2 separate regions of the Homo sapiens genome follow, and region 2 is linked to region 1. Evidence: promoter capture Hi-C in 16 types of primary human blood cells and fetal thymus (Javierre and others, 2016). All regions are on one chromosome and are shown on one strand. The core of a region is centred on a gene start or on the middle of the fragment in contact, and the rest is flanking DNA. Distances in the headings are between cores, read along the strand shown.

What was found. The method cuts DNA at HindIII sites, captures the fragments that hold promoters and counts their contacts. A CHiCAGO score of 5 or more calls a contact.
Region 2: a fragment that was not itself captured here is called in contact with the fragment with the promoter of SLC39A12 in region 1 in 1 of 17 cell types (M2 macrophages); the score reaches 6.9 in M2 macrophages.

What each region holds. Positions count from the first base shown.
Region 1 is chr10:17,950,524-17,953,223 of GRCh38, reverse strand. SLC39A12 (solute carrier family 39 member 12) reads right to left here and starts at 1,306. Exons shown (of 13, transcript NM_001145195.2): 1 at 1,199-1,306; 2 at 1-33. The HindIII fragment of the contact is 2,620 bases long and covers 233-2,700 here.
Region 2 is chr10:18,202,369-18,205,068 of GRCh38, reverse strand. All of the region lies in intron 2 of CACNB2 (calcium voltage-gated channel auxiliary subunit beta 2), which reads right to left. Among named protein-coding and RNA genes, the nearest start is that of CACNB2-AS2, 58 kb to the left of the region's middle. The HindIII fragment of the contact is 512 bases long and covers 1,095-1,606 here.

The sequences.
Region 1 (2,700 bases), core at 57-2,556:
GTTTATGGGGTAAACTTGTAACCAAAGGAATTTCTGTGGTAAAGGGGAAAAATAAAGCCTTCAATTATTGTGCCTGCAACATGTTTGAAAGGATTCATTAATTGGGTGGCTAAGCTGATTTGCAATGACAAGCTGTTTCTACACAGCGGGGGTCTGTAGGTAATTTCTAACCCCAAATGGCAGGAAAGCACCATGGCTGTAGACTTTCAAACTGCACAGCAGCCAAAAAGCTTGCTAGATTCTCTCTCCCTAAACTAAACATAGCGTCACGTAAGTTTCTCCATTTACCAACAGGTGGTACAAGTTATAGGACCCAGGTTGGGAAACACCTTATGTTTATCCCATTATAAAGAACTCCAAGTGATTCATGGTCCTCATGAAAAAGAGAAAATAAATTCTACTAAATGACCAACATCATGTTGAGTTTAAAAGTTTTAGGCCAGGCGCGGTAGCTCACACCAGTAATCCCAGCACTTTGGGAGGCTGAAGCAGGCAGATCACGAGGTCAGGAGTTTGAGACCAGCCTGGCCAATATGGTGACACCCCCGTCTCTACTGAAAATACAAAAATTAGCCAGGTATGGTGGCACGTGCCTGTAGTCCCAGTTACATGGGAGGCTGAGGCAGAAGAATTGCTTGAACCCGGGAGGCGGGGGTTGCAGTGAGCCAAGATCGTGCCACTGCACTCCAGCCTGGGCGACAGAACAAGACTCCATCTCAAAAAAAAAAAAAAGAAAAAAGAAAAAAGAAAAAAAAAGAGTTTTAGACAAGGAAAAGCACTAGAAGAAAATAGTAATGTTCAGAAAACACAGGTCTTTTTTTTAGTTTACTAAGAATCAAGATTCTAGAGCAGGAAGCATCTTAGAAAAACAGAATTTCGAGACCTCAAGAACATGACACACACACACACACACACTCACTCAGTGGTGACTAAAGGAGTGGGGGATGACTTTAGAGCCAATCAACTTCCTGGAAAAAAAAATTATCTTTCTGTTGATGGCTTAAGGCATGTAAAATGTTAACAGCATCTCATGTCCGATCCTGGCCCAGAGATGAGCTGGTAAATGACTGTGGGCTAGTAACAAAGGTACTGGGATTACTTTTATGAGTTAAAAACAACAACAACACTTTAAGGTTGTTATGTTAGCAATTTAAAAGTGACAGAGGATGATGCAAGCATTTCTAACCCCAGTGCTTACCTTCAGAAGAAAGATAAACGATTCTTTATCTGGAGCTCCACAGCCTTTTAAATCCTGGAGAGTATTTCACAGTTACAAAGTTCCCTGTTTTTAAAATTCTTTGACTGTGCACTGGGAGCTAGAGAGGATTATTTCAGCCCAGAAAAGTTTTCAGTTGCTATGGAGAGAGCTGCTCTGAAGGTAACAATGAAGGTGGATAAAAGGGAGAACTTTCTGTCTGGTAGATTTTCAAGGTAATCAAATCAGTGTGGTTCATGAATTTAACTTTTTAGATCAAGAATTAACCAATTTTCTTAGGCTCACCTACTGTCACTTGCCTTTCAAGGGACAGAATCTAGGTCAAAGGATTTCACCTCGCAGAATAGAAAGACTTCAGTGTTAGATGAAGATTTTTTCCTCTCCAGTTGATTCTGTAATAACTGTTTCATCCAGGCTCAAACCAAAGATTTGTTGAAAAGATAGGCTCTTTGGAACCATATTTGTTTTGCAAGATGCAGAAGCCTAAAAGATTGAAGTCTTTCGTAATGAGATGCTTTCAAATGAAAAGTATTGGTTGAAGGAATGAAATTCTTACCAGGGATGTAGGTAGCATAAATGAGGAACTTTAATCAGCTGCATATATTGTGATCACCAGCACCGGTGGTAGTTCTTACATCAGATCCTTCATGCTCCTCAAAACAAAACCTCTCAACAAATTATTAGTGAATAAATGACTAAAGGAACAAAGTGGTTCATTTTCTAGGAAGCAAGAGAAGTTAAATCCTAAGATTTCAGAGTGGGCAGAATGCATGCCCACAGTATAGGGGTTTAAGTCAGCTGGTGGGCAGGTAGAGGAAATTTGAGATCAGGATGATTAGCCTCATCACTAATTGTATATGAAACACGGGAACCCTGCGGTAGGATATTCCTGAGAGAATGCTAGTAATGAGAGATGACAACTTGCTAGCAGCCCTGGCTCGCTCTTGGCGCCTCCTCAGCCTCAGCTTCAGCTCTCTCCGTCTTCAAGGAGCCCTTCAGCCCGCCGCTGCGCTGTGGGGGACCCTCTCTGGGGCTGGCCGAGGCCGGAGCCGGCTCCCTCTGCTTGCCGGGAGGTGTGGAGGGAGAGGCGTGGGCGGGAACTGGGGCTTGATCAGAGGCTGAATCCCGTGCGTGGACCAGAACGTTGGCCACGATGGCGGGTCTCCATCTCTTTCTTGCTTCCCGTCTTTTGCTCTTGATTGTCTGGGACGAGCTCCCTCTAGGCTGCTGGAGTGCCCGGGCTAGGTGCTCCGGATAGGTGCCACAAAGTCCCGTGGCTAGTGCCAGTGAGAGGTGAAGCCAGCTGGGCTTCTGGGATGGTGGGGACTTGGAGAACTTTTCTGTCTAGCTAAAGGATTGTAAAAGCACCAATCAGCGCTCTGTGTCTAGCTAATCTGGTGGGGACTTGGAGAACGTTTGTGTCTAGCTAAAGGATTGTAAGCACACCAATCAGCACTCTGTGTGTAGCTAAAGGTTTGTAAACG
Region 2 (2,700 bases), core at 101-2,600, 250 kb before region 1:
AAAACACTTGACATCTACAAATGTATAAACATTAGAGAGTTTGGAATATAGAGTCTTGGGCATGAAAGCCAGACCTTTTTTTTTTTTTTTTTCTGGTAAAGTTTAAGGAATCCAGCAAGAAGTGAAGCATTTTACCACTAGTAGGAACTCATTAAATATTTGTGGCATTAAAATGAAATGAAGCCTACTCTTGAAATTGACTCTATACAGAAAGTACAGTATGGAATGCATATGTGATCAGAAGCAATAACATGTATATTCATTTACTCAACAAGTACTTTTGAATGTTTACTGTATTCTAGGCTGTTTGTCTGGATATCACCAAGTTCTGAATGTATAACGGTAAACAAAACAGGTAGTGTACTTGCCCTCGCAGAGCTTAACACATCCAAATCTATCATGCCATAGTTTTGTTATCTCACTAAATCCAGAGGTTAAATGATTTTGTGGCCTAAGGCCACACATAAAATGTCAGAGCAAAAATTACAAAGCAGGAAATTTGAATCCTATGACAGGTTTAACTTTGAAGAAACTAAATTTTAAAAGAAAAACTATCACTTTCAAGAAAGAAAATAAAAGATTCTGCTTTTGTCAATTAGAGCAAGATTTCCTTATCCCACTGATATTTCAAATAGCCTGGTTAACAAAGGCACAATTCACATCTACAAATAATGTTAGGTCCACCTATTCTACTTAGTAACGGGTGTTTAGTGGTGATGTGTCATTTCATGCTAGACTTTGTTGGTTAATGTATAATCAATATGTTTCATTATAAGGTCAGTCATGAAAAGCATAAATGACACTTTATACAAAAGTTTACATGCAGTGGCTGCAAACACACCATAGCAACAGGGAGAGATTGATGAAAAAGGTTTGGTTTCTATAGCAACTATCGTAGGGACCATCTGTAAGCTGAACTGCAGCAACGGAAGCAAAATGAACACTTTAAAAGTCTGCAGTAGGTCTCTTTGTCTATTTAAACATAATGTTAAAATTAAACGTTTTTTCTCCTATAAGGATAAGCTTCCTCTTTTATTTGCCATTTTGCAATCTGATTGCTTTTTTGTTTGAATGAGCCTGTTTTTATTGAAGCTTATAAATCCAACCTTTACAAAAACGACTGTATTTTCCTACTGAAACTTCTATGCACAAATGAACAATCACAAACACAATTGGCAAAAGCAGAGAAACATGGATTGTGAAAAATTTTAGTATATTTCAAAAGACAGACTATAAAATGCTATTATAAGAACTACGGTTCTTTATTTAGTATCTTTTTTTTTATTCCAACAACCTGCTTTTCATAACAGTCACCACTAGCAAAAAGCAGAGGGAAATTACAACACAATTACTTGTTCATTCTTCATTACCATATATGTAATTGTGTTGTTCCCTCTACAGCCTCCGCTAAAATAATCAACGATCACTCGCCCCGTTATGTTTCTCTATGTATATACACACATACATATGTATGTACGTGTGGGTGTTTATTTATTCATGTTTCCCCCTCATTAAGTCATCTTTTTTTGAAGGTACTCATTGATGTAATGTGGAAAAATAGAGCATTTTAATCTTGAATAAAATTGCTACCTTTATAAGGAAAGCTTTTCTGCTCTCACTCACGGTGTGTTACCCAAAGGATACAAAGGACAAGAGAAAGCTGTAAATATCAAACAAGGAAAAGTGACTAATGCCAGCCAAGGTACAAAACCCTTTTTCAGATAGAGGGGTCACTTTTCACAGCATCCATGCTAACCTGCCCGGCTTGTAAAGTTGCCATGCTGCAACCACAGCTTGGCTGGTATTTAACTACTCTGTGATATCATTCGGCTATAATTTCGACTCTCCAAGCATCTGCCTGTGTCTACTTCAAGCTGGCTGACCAGAATACAGATGAAAGAACAAAATTTTCACTAAGAATTGGATCTAGATGCTGTGGCATATTCCTGTGTCTCTTTTGTACCCATGAGGTACTGCAGAATATTGCAGAAACCTGCTTCAGACCCTGTAGTCTGATATTTTCAAAGAGTGAGTGACAGAATCTTAAAGCATCAATCAAGGAAAATGTTCAGTGATGGCTCGCTTAATGGGGACTCTGTTAACAGCTTTCCCAGTGATGAAAATCCAGTCTTGCTTAACAACAGAGATAATAGGAAACTGACTGAATTATACAGTGTCAGTCTGTATGTCAAGAAAGGGAATTTCAGCATAAAAATGTCACAGATTACAAAGTATGTGCTTCCTGAAACAAAGACAGAAAGGCAAAGAACTTGCTATTTCTTGACGTTACTACATTCCAGATGGATCTTACTCCACAGCCACAACACAGAAGAGATAAACATTCCAAAATAGAACCTGAGAATGGTTCTGGAACTATAGACACTGGCTCAACCTTTTCAATTCATGCCATTGGGCGGCCAATGACTGAGAAATTACTCTGTTCCAGGAACTATACTAAATCCTTAAACTATATCATCTCTAATTTGCTTAAGCCCTTATAGATTGTGTATTATTATCCTTGCTTTACAGATGAGAATGTGAAGTTTTTAAAGGAGTTAAAAAAAAACTTGAAGTAAACAGATGAGCTGATACTTACACCGAGGATATTTTTGACCCCAAAATCCCATGGTTTGGTCCCTATAATATATGGTGGCTCATTTGAGAGTTAGAGAAACCAAGGCCCAGAGAAGATCAGTATAT